Linked DNA regions of Homo sapiens: all the other regions are linked to region 4. The links are contacts of gene promoters, found by promoter capture Hi-C in blood cells and fetal thymus (Javierre and others, 2016). All regions are on one chromosome and are shown on one strand. The core of a region is centred on a gene start or on the middle of the fragment in contact, and the rest is flanking DNA. Distances in the headings are between cores, read along the strand shown.

Evidence for each region. Contacts are between HindIII fragments. The CHiCAGO score rates a contact against its expected background, and 5 or more counts as called.
Region 1: the fragment with the promoter of NAF1 here is called in contact with the fragment with the promoter of TRIM61 in region 4 in 7 of 17 cell types (non-activated CD4 T cells, naive CD8 T cells, fetal thymus and 4 more); the score reaches 19.2 in non-activated CD4 T cells.
Region 2: a fragment that was not itself captured here is called in contact with the fragment with the promoter of TRIM61 in region 4 in 2 of 17 cell types (naive CD8 T cells and naive B cells); the score reaches 6.4 in naive CD8 T cells.
Region 3: a fragment that was not itself captured here is called in contact with the fragment with the promoter of TRIM61 in region 4 in 1 of 17 cell types (naive CD8 T cells); the score reaches 6.3 in naive CD8 T cells.

What each region holds. Positions count from the first base shown.
Region 1 is chr4:163,165,440-163,168,139 of GRCh38, forward strand. NAF1 (nuclear assembly factor 1 ribonucleoprotein) reads right to left here and starts at 1,451. Exons shown (of 8, transcript NM_138386.3): 1 at 924-1,451. The coding sequence starts at 1,288. RefSeq lists enhancers at 596-1,463, 955-1,034, 1,065-1,184, 1,205-1,404. The HindIII fragment of the contact is 3,845 bases long and covers 1-2,598 here.
Region 2 is chr4:163,483,698-163,486,397 of GRCh38, forward strand. No RefSeq gene overlaps it. Among named protein-coding and RNA genes, the nearest start is that of TMA16, 9.6 kb to the right of the region's middle. The HindIII fragment of the contact is 1,390 bases long and covers 749-2,138 here.
Region 3 is chr4:163,505,091-163,507,790 of GRCh38, forward strand. It overlaps TMA16 (translation machinery associated 16 homolog), which reads left to right. Exons shown (of 7, transcript NM_018352.3): 2 at 1,943-2,055. Among named protein-coding and RNA genes, the nearest start is that of TMA16, 12 kb to the left of the region's middle. The HindIII fragment of the contact is 3,133 bases long and covers 1-2,700 here.
Region 4 is chr4:164,976,351-164,979,050 of GRCh38, forward strand. TRIM61 (tripartite motif containing 61) reads right to left here and starts at 1,307. Exons shown (of 3, transcript NM_001414904.1): 1 at 1,181-1,307; 2 at 338-475. RefSeq lists enhancers at 1,416-1,495, 1,526-1,585. The HindIII fragment of the contact is 561 bases long and covers 975-1,535 here.

The sequences.
Region 1 (2,700 bases), core at 201-2,700, 1.8 Mb before region 4:
ATGAGCTCTGAAATCCCACAAGATGATTATACTGCAATCTTAGTACTGCCAAGAAATCCAACCTTGTTTACAGTTGTTACTTCCCCCTCCCAGTACATTTCATACCCTCTCCTTCTACTCAAATCCTTCAGCCTTCTTCACTTCCACTCTCCGCTGATGACTTCCCTGAAAACTAAACTTCTCACCTCCTCAACACGTGTCTATCTTGTTAACCTGTTCAGTACCCCACTCAACACACTCAACTATTTGTAGACAATGTTCAGTGTGGTTTAGTAACATCCCACATGCTGGAGTCCTCTCCAGCCCAGAGATTTCATATTTAAAAGACAGGTGTGGGGGCAAGGGGGAAAGGCTCTCACAAAACGTAAGAAGCATAAGATACTACTAAATAACACTGTTTGGCTACTTTCATAAACACGTGTTCCCTGCAAGGATTCTATAAATTAACGTAATCATCAAGAGCCAGCTTTGAAACACAAAAAATAATACTTTTCCTGATCCCCAATGTATGTGGTTCAAAAAACAAAGCCTAGATGTGATGATAAAAAAAAATCAGATCTGACACAAAACTCAACTATAACCACAAAAGTACAGCCTAAACTGAGTAGTTACGGAAATAACCTAAGATCCTCGGGTTTTCTAAAGTCTAACAAAAAATGATACGATCTATACATAGAACCCTTCAGGCCACCAAATTTAGGAAATAAGTCAGTACTAAGCTCAGATTCACAACGCGACCTGCTTTGAGAGGCAGCGAATAAGGGGCAGTCGGAGCCAATACTTCAACACGTGAGCCCGGAGCACCAACGACCTGCCCACCCTCCAGGGCCCACACAAGCAACCTCTAGGCTCCTAGGCCCCAGCCACCCCCGCCCGTCATACAAGACCTCTCCCCACAGCTCCGGGTCCCTTAGGCACCCGACCTGTCCGAGTCCGAATCCGAGTCCGAGGTCTCCAAGGAGTCCGGCGCCCGCGCAGGCTCTGCGGCTCCTGGGGAGGTGACGCAGTCTCCGCAGGCCGGCGATTCAGCCGGTGGCTGTGGCTGCGGCGCCGGGGTCCCGGCCGCGACGGCGTTCAGAACGGGCTGCAGAGGCTGCTCCCCGGCAGGCTTAACCTCCACGGTCTGCCCAGCGTCCGGGGACCCCTCAAACGACTGTAGCGGCGGCTGTGTCCCTGGCACAGGGGCAGAGCCCGGAGACGGAGCCGCCGGACCTTCCCCAACTCCAAAGTCGGTGCCATTGAATTTCAGAGTTTCCAGCTGAGCGGCGGCGGCCTCCACTACCTCCATCGCACCGCGCCAGAAACCGGGTCGGCCTCAGGATTGGGGCCCCTGGACAAGCTCACGGCTCTCTCCAGAAATAGAAAAACAACTTAGGCAACCGCAGCAACACTGCCTGGGCCCAACTTCCCGCGTTTCTCAGGTAACTACACGCGGAGGAGCCAAAAGACACGCCCCCGCCATTTACGCAGCAACGCTTTCCGAAGAGCGTGTGACGTATGTGGCGCGACGGCGCGACGGCGCTCGCGGGGGCAGGATACATGCGTCATATCTTCGAAAATCAGGATTAGGGGGTCGGGCGCCGTGGCTCACGCTCGTAATCCCAGCACTTTGGGAGACCGAGGTGGGCGGATCACAAGGTCAGGAGTTCACAGACCAGCCTGCCCAACATGGTGAAACCCCATCTCTACTAAAAATACAAAAATTAGCTGGGCATGGTGGCGCGTGCCTGTAATTCCCACTACTTGGGAGGCTGAGGCAGGAGAATCGCTTGAACCCAGCAGGCGGAAGTTGGAGTGAGCCGAGACCGCGCCACTGCACTCCAGCCTGGCGAGAAAGCGAGACTCCGTCTCAAAAAAAAATAATCAGGACTAGGGAGGCCCTAAATCGACCGTTTTCACTGCGTCATGTGAACCATTCAAGGCCTGAATGTCGGATTTTCCTATTGCTGCATGTGAACCAATTCTGCTTGAAGCGCCAAAATGAAGCAGGGATTATACAACAGGGGGGTGCCTGAAGAATGCTAAGTTCTGTACATCAGAAACTTGAGCCAGGAAGTCTTGACAAGACGCTAGTAACTTCATGAAAGTTAAATGAAGTTTATCCATCAATAGATCCATCTGTCGATAGATAGGGTATTAACCATTTTTTCAAAAATGTAACTACAACTATTCCATTTTCCTTTCTCCAAAGTACCCTCAAAGAGAGCAGTAATGGACAAAATTTTGCTGTGTTGTTCATGTTATGGTGATGTCTATATCATACTTAGCACTGTTTCGTAGTAGAGAGATGAGACTATGAGACTGAAATGTACTCACTTATTGTTGGAAACCACTAGTCTAAATTGTGGAGAAAGCAAGCAGAGTTCTTAGGACTGAGGAAGAGATCAGAATTTTCTGGTTTCCTATTAGGTCTTCAGTTTGAGGCATCAGTCCCTGTGTAGTAATAATAATCATTGATACCATTTGTTAAACATGCATATGTGCCAAGGACTGTGCTAAAGATTTTATAAATTATTCACTGAGAATTTAGTGTGTCATCTACAACAGTAGATCTTCATAGAAATGCAAGGCAAGTGTAATAAGAGTAAGGTTTTAAGAAGCTTACAATCTACTTGAAGTAGAGAAGGGCAATGCACAGGAGATAACTAGAAAAATATTTGAAATATGAAATAGAAAATCCAAGTGCAGCAGAAATGGGAA
Region 2 (2,700 bases), core at 194-2,693, 1.5 Mb before region 4:
ACGTCATCTTCCCTCTATGTATATCTCTGTGTCTAAATTTCCCCTTTTCATAAGAACATCTGCCATATTGGATTAGGGTACACCCTAATACCCTCATTTTTACCTTTCTGTAAAGACCCTAAAACTACCTCTGTAAAGATCTCCAGATAGGGTCACATTCTAAGATACTAGTGGTTAGGACTTCAATGTATCTTTTGGGGGGACACAATTCAATCCATAACACTTGGCTTGTAGCGGCATAACCACAACATTTACATGGAGTCTCCCTGTGTACATGTCTGAGTCCAAATTTCTTTTCATAAGGACACCAGTCATATTGGATTAGTGGCCTACACTTCTGTAGTAGGACCTCAAGTAATTATATCTACAGTGACCCTGTAAGGCTCTTTGTGACCCAAATAAGGTCACATTCTGAGGTACTGGGGGTTAGGACTTCAACATATTAATTTAGTGGGAGAGGTGGGGGAGGCACAATTCAACCTACAACAATGAAGATTCACCTAAAGTATTCATTGCTCTAAAAAACTCAATACATTTTAGGAAAATCTATCACATATTCATATATTCATAAAGATATGTGACTTATAACGCCTTATAAATATGACAATGAGAGAACAAAAACATTATCAAACTCAGTTTTTATTGATTCTGCTACTACGTAGATGTGGTTAAGACAAGGCATCCTAAAACAAAATTTAATAAAATGATCTTAACAAGAATAACCAAAATTTCCTTCTTTCGACTTCAAAGCTTCCTTTCATTAACATTGTTCTTAAAAGAGAAATAACACTTGCAGCCTAATCTCAATTATCAACTTGTATATTTTGGTTTGCATCAGCATATCTCTAATGCACCACTTTATTGGTGCATTATTGCCACTGTACTCATTAAATTCAGCTTTCCCCAGTCCTCCTCATTTTAATTGGAAAAAAGCTAAAAAATACACTGTTTTGAAAAATTCAAACACTGTAGAAGAATACAATGAAAGGTCCTTTCCTGAGCGCCCTACCTCAATCCTAATCTCGTAAATTACAAACAGCATATTGTAACTCCATCCACATATTTTCTATGCATGAATGGGCATATATATGTCTTCATTCCACATTTTATTGTAAATGGGATTTATTTTGCACATTGTTTTATAACTCATTTTTTTCTACCTAACAATTTTAGAGCATTTTTCCACACAGGTACATATCAATCTAACTCATTTCTTTAAAACAGCGGCAGATAATTCTTTGTAACAAATTTAACTTGTGTAAGGAGTTAAATATGTTACAAAGGGGATTTGGACGACCACCAGATGGCACTAGCACACAGTTTATTTGGGCAGAGATTGACAGATTTGCCTGGGGGTGAGGGTGGGGGTTGGGGTGAGGACAGGGGCAGTTTCTCAGTGACAGCATGATACCTTCCAAAGGCAAGGGTGCACAGGCGACTTTCCAGAAGGGACATAGAGGAAGATCTGAGGGAGAGTATTTAGAGGGGGTTATGTGTCTAGGTGGTGTCACTCAGCAGCATGGTGGGAGTCTCTGGGCAAAGAACTCTGAGAGAAGCAGTGGCCCCAGCGTTTATCTAATCTATGGGACCTATGGTTAGCAGATGTTGGGTGCAGTTTCTCAGGATGTGCAAAGCAGGCAGGCTGTAAATGGCTAACAATCTGCTTTTGGGGGCTATATTTTAAAACAACTGGATGTGTAGAAATTTAAGTTTGGCCGTAGCCGGCTTTTGAGTTAAGAAGTCCCAGGCTGCTGTGAAGAAGTAAACAACACAGGGCCAGGGGCCATTTTAACTCATTTTTGTAACAACTAGCTCCTTATTGAAAGGCACTTTATGATTTTTCCCAAGCCAAAAAGAAAAGAAGAGTCACAAACAGGTCAAAAGAAAAATTACTAATTTATATATGACAAAAGTCTAATTTTATAAGTATAATCAGGACTCCTAGAAATAAGAAAAATGATAAATTAGCACAGCTGTCTCCAAAATCAACCTTGAAAACTACAGAAACAGGAAGAAATTGGCTGTTGGAAGTAAATGAAGACTGTGAGAAACCCCTGGGAAGAAGGGAACTAGTGACTAGAAGGGAGGGAGGCAGCCGAAGAGCACAGCAGTCACATGGGGAGGAGGATGTCCCTGGAAGCTTGGGAGGCTCTGGGGAGGTCATATATAATCTTAGCTCTTGTCTCCCGTACTTCACCTGGGAAGCTTTGCTGCCCTCCCAGTGTTGTGAAGCACTACCAGAGGAGCACAAGGCCAGGCTAATAAGGAGCTGATAGAAATAGGACTAGGATGAATTGTACCCTGGAATGTTCAGGCCTCCAACTCCTGTCAGCAGAGGTTATTGGTCCCTGGAGCTCTCTCCTCTGAAACTTAACCCTTCTGCTTTCCTCAAATTCTCAAAAAAGGATTCAGTTGAGAATGTGTCTTTGAGCACTTCCCTAATAGACAACACAGAGCAGTATAGCTGATTTCATCAGTAAATTAATGTGATGCTACAGGTTCAAAGAAACTAGGTACCTATATTAGTCCATTTTCACACTGCTATAAAGATACTACCGGAAACTGGGTAATTTATAAACAAAAGAAGTTTAATTGACTCACACTTCCGCATGGCTGAAGAAGCCTCAGGAAATTTATGATCATGGCAGAAGGTGAAGGGAAGCAAGGCACATCTGACATGGTGGCAGGAGAGAGAGACAG
Region 3 (2,700 bases), core at 40-2,539, 1.5 Mb before region 4:
AGCCCACATTCAAAAGGAGGGGATTCCATAAGGGCATGAGGATCAGGAGGTGGGGTTTATTGGGTCCATCTTAGAGGCAGCCTGCCAAATGTCCTGAAAGTTTTTACTTGATTCATGTTTGCTAGGTACTTTAATCTCAAAAATTCCTCATTACACCTGCCTTTCTCCTCTGCACTTGCCATGTGAGCAGAGAGATACATAAAAGAGTACATATACTCTTATATGATGGTTCTACATATTTTCCTATACCTGTAACCAACTTCCAGTGATACCTTAAGATTCAGATGTGGATATATCTTCTCAGGTTTATCAGAAAGCGAGCAGAGCGCTCAATGAGTGTTGAAAGAATGAATATATTTGTGAATGAGGAATTTGTGGTTATTTTAAATAGTTCTGCCTAGTTTTACAAAGGAAGTAATTTTGAACTGCATCTTATCAAAGGGCAAGTAAAGTATTTTGCAGGCAGAGGTAATAACAAGTGCAGTCTCAAGAAGTTATGAAATAGCTTGGTATGTTCTGGAATGGTGAGAAGTTCAGTAAGAATGGCGTGAAGAATCTTTTATAGAGGAGCATGGGAAATAATGGTGGAGAAGCAGGTTGGGGCTAGATTGTTTCTGTGCTAAAGACTTGGGACCTAACTGTGAGCTAGTAGAGCACTTTAAGCAGGGGAGAGGGACTTTACTATATTAGTGTTTTATGAAGACAAGCTCTGTAGCTTTGCCGAAGAAAGGACTAGTGGGGAGAATCTAAAGACTATCCTGATTATGAAAGATTCTGAGGATTGAATTAAGCAATTGACAATAATTTTGAAGAAGAGTGTAAAGCCACTTGGCCTTTTTCTGGAATAGGTATGTTGGAGACTGCCAGCTGTCCCCTAATGTATTCTTTCTGTTTTTCTATATGAATGGATCTTTTTCTCACAGAATAAGGATTATATTTACTACTCTCCCTTATGTAACACTGTGAATAAATTTTGGTCAGTGGGATGTGAGCAAAAGGATCTGCAACTTCCCAGGTCATGCTCTTAAAAAAAGGGGATGTACCTTCAGATTTTTCTTTTCCTACTTCATACTGGCTTGAGTGTAGACCTGGTATTAGGCTGTCTTGAACTAGATAGGAGGTATAGCCTGAGGCTAGTAGACAAAAAAATGGAAGGATCCTGGATCCCTAAGGGCTTTGTGGAACAGAACCTTCAGCTCCTACTTTTAACAATAAAGAACCAAACTTAAGCTGGGTTATGCCATTATTTGGGGTTTTTATTACAGAGAGCCAAATATGATTCCTAGATCATTATAGGTGAGGTAAGATACAGGATTATGTAGGAATAAAAGAAACCTGAGATGTCTAGTTTGGAGGACCTAATGAATTGTGGGCTGATTAACTGGCATAAGGCTTCAGTGGGAAAATGATACATTTTTCCTTTTGGATATACTAATTTTGAGATGGCTTCTATTATTTTCTCTATTCCTAATTTGTACAGGCAATGAGCCCAGCTTTGATTTTGCATGATTCATTGCCCGCTTTGTTCCATGTGAAACATCTACAATCAAGCCCCTACTAATAATCCAAGTCCCTTCTGACCCCTTAATTTTCTTAACTGTAACAAATTTCTGGCTGTGAGTCTCCTCACTATCTGTAGTCCCTGTATCTTCTTTGAAGATAGAACATGTTGTTGAAGAGCTGAGTTTATTGACTCCTTCTGTGCCTTTCTTCTGTCATTGGAGAGCACCTCTGAATATATCGTTTCTGTCATTACCATGGCAACAGATTATTAGAATTATTTAATGATCCTGGCTTATCTCCTGATTTTTCTTGTAATAGTTTTAGCTTACTGTATTTCTGTCATATTACTGTTTTTAAAATTTATTTGTAAAGAATATTTTTGGGACTGAAGGCACTTACATATCTGACTATATGTGTCATGTGTTTTCATACATTTTAGCCCAAAGCACCAAAGGGAAAAAGTGCAGGACGGGAAAAAAAAGTCATCCATCCATATAGTAGAAAAGCAGCTCAAATTACGAGAGAGGCCCACAAACAAGAAAAAAAGGAAAAGTAAGTATCTTTTCATCATTTGTATTACTCGTTGGTAAAAAGCCCCTTTATACTTTTATCTTTCAAACATATATCCTTTCACAGTATTGTCTCCCTTTCATAAATATTTATTAAGTGTGTTCTGTATGCAGAGGGTGAAACTGAACAAGGACTCTACTCTTTTAGAGCTTACCTAAAACAGATAAGTAATTTATGTAGCAGTAGGTGATGAGTGCCATGAAAAATTTAAAAAGTTATGGGATGGACAGTGAGGGAGAAGTTGTTTTACGTGGGATAGTCATGGAAGCCTTCTCTGAAGAAGTTACATTTGAACAGAGAGTTGAAAAATGTGAGGTCTGTATATAAGGCATGTAGGTTAAAGTGCCCATGAGACATGTAAGAGGAGATATGGAATGGATAGTTAGATATGTTGAGTCTAGTGTTCAGAGAATAGGTTAGGGGTATTGACACAAATTTGGGAGCGATCAGCATCCATGTGGGATTTCAAGCCGTGAGACTGGATAGGATCAGTTCACCTAAGGAGTAACTGTTGACAGGAAAGAGAAGAGAGCCAATTACTGAGTTCAGTGGCCCTCTACCATTTAGAGGTTAGGAAAAGAAGGAGCATTCCACAAGTGAGACTGAGAAGGAGGAGAAAGAAGGCTG
Region 4 (2,700 bases), core at 57-2,556:
CCACAGGTGTGGAGGGGCAGGCCACCCCTTCATAAAGGACACAAGAGGACTCACTCCAGGTATCATTGTGCCCTCCTTTCCCCAAGCATACACCCAAAGCAGTCTTCTCTACTATTTAAAATCAGGACATTAAGTGAACAGAACAGCTCTGTAGGCACAGTCACCACCCTAGTTTAAACCACTTATGTCTCTCTCCTAGATACACAATGGTGCCTCCAATTTCTGAAGTCTGTAGCTAAACTGACCTTTTCAAATACAAACAGAATCCTTTCATATTTCAACTGAAAACATTCCACTGGTCCTTTATTACTTTATGGAAGCAATTCTCAAATCTTACCTTGCATTATAATCACCTGGAGGTCTTGGTAAAAGATTGCCTGGGCCACATCCCCAGTTTCTGACTCAGTAGGGCTGGTTTTTTCCTAAGTTCCCAGATGATGCTGCTGGCCTGCGGACTGTACTTTGTGAACCTATGCTTTAAGGAAAACAAAGCAAAAAGATCCATTAAGATCTAGTCCAAGTTTTTTGCCTAGCTCCCATCATGTCACATATCACAGTTATGTGATTTTACAGCTACTCTGCAATTCTTTACCTAACTGTAAAAACCCCTCACCAGGCAGCAAGCTTCTTGGTGGCAATACGTCTCTAGCTTGTTTGAGGAATAAATAAAACCTGTGGTAGATTCCAAGCTCTCAGTTTCAACCATCATCATACTGGCTGATTCTTAACATGCCTGCACCTAAAGCGCCTCATCTACAAAGTTGAAATGATAATTCGTACCTGTAAGACCCTTGTGAGGATTACAGGATGCTTACATAGGTCGAGGGTGCAGACGACGTAGGCTGGTGGGTTCTCAACTGGCAGCTACCACTTCGCTCCCTTAACTCCCCAACCCCCACTCCCAAACACGTACATTAACTCTTTGAAGATAACATAGCCACTTCATAAACCCTAATTCAGATCATAACATTTAAAGCTTAATTGATACAGGCTCAACACCCCCATTCTAACTCTACAATCCTGAATTTTTCACAAGAGCTACGCCAGACACTAAGGAGATCCAGTCGTGGGCAGGCAGCGACCCGGAGGTTTAGGCACAGAGAATGTTCAAGAAGCCCCTGTCCAGTTAAGCCTCCTGGCGAGGCCCTTCTGGGCCTTTCCTGCGGCCTTCCCAGCTCACCTGGAGCAGACGGATCAGCAAATCCGGCCAAAGAATACTCAGGACCCACCGAGCCCCCGCGAGGAAGGACTCATACCCCAACCCCACCAAGTGGGCTGCTTCCTGCCTGGGGCTCAGCCTGCGCGGTGGTTGGCAGTTGCCCCGGAAGTGGGCGGGAAGGACCTGCGCATGCTCTGTGACCCTGGGTGCAGGGATTGTGTGAAGATTGAGAGCTGGGGGCGCCCTCTTCCGTGATCAGGGCCCCGTTGGCCCCAACTGGCATTTAATTCCCCTGGCTGTCTTTTCGGATTCTTATCACTTTTTATGTATATGAGTAAACTTGAGGGTCCAAGTAAGTCTGCAAGTTGGTTTTAAAAGCTTCACCAGCACAGCGTCCCCTCCCAGATGGTGAGGGAGTGGAGAGCTTTGCAGGGTCAACTGCTTCCCGTAGCCTGGGGTCGCAGGGTGGAGTCGTTGAGCACTCCCTATGCTTGAAAGAGGAATAGAAGCCCCTTTGGATTAGTTTGCATCTCAGTGGGTGAGTGGGTGGATCTCTCCCACCCTGTGGGATTGTGCCCTACCCTATGAACTCAGGTTTACCTGAGGAAGTGACATTTCAGGCGGAATTTGAGGGATGAAGAGGCATTCGTTGGATCAATTCCACGGTCAAAGTCTTCAAGGCTGGAAGAAGAGCCAATGTGGAGCCTCTCAACTTTAAAGAATTTAGTACAGGCCGGGCATAGTGGCTCACACCTGTAATCCAAGCACTTTCAGAGGCAGAGGTGGGAGGATCGCTTGAGGCCAGGAGTTCAGGACAAGCCTAGGTAACATTGCCAGACCCTGCGTCTACAAAATATTTTAGAAATGATTTTTTTTTCTTTTAATAAGAGACGGAATCTCTCTTTCGCCCAGGCTGGAGTGCAGTGGCGCGATCTTGGCTCTCTGCAACCTCTGCCTCCCAGTTTCAAGCAATTCTCCTGCCTCTGTCTCCCGAGTAGCTGGGTCTATAGGCGCACGCCGCCACGCCTGGCTAATTTTTTGTTGTTGTATTTTTAGTAGAGACGGGGTTTCATCGTGTTGCCCAGGCTGGATTCGAACTCCTGAGATCAGGCAATCCGCCCGCCTCGGCCTCCCAAAAGTGCCAGGATTACAGGCGTGAGCCACCTCACCCAGCCAGAAATGATAATTTTATTTTTATTTTTATTTTTTTTTTGAGACGGAGTCTCGCTCTGTGGCCCAGGCTGGAGTGCAGTTGCGTGATCTCGGCTCACTGCAAGCTCCGCCTCCCGGGTTCACGCCATTCTCCTGCCTCAGCCTCCAGAGTAGCTGGGACTACAGGTGCCTGCCACCACGCCCAGCTAATTTTTTGTATTTTTAGTGGAGACGGGGTTTCACCGTGTTAGCCAGGATGGTGTCGATTTCCTGACCTCGTGATCCGCCCGCCTCGGCCTCCCAAAGTGCTAGGAGTACAGGCGTGAGCCACCGCGCCCTGCCTAGAGATGATAATTTTTAAAAACTTGGTACAAAAGGAACTGAAAGAG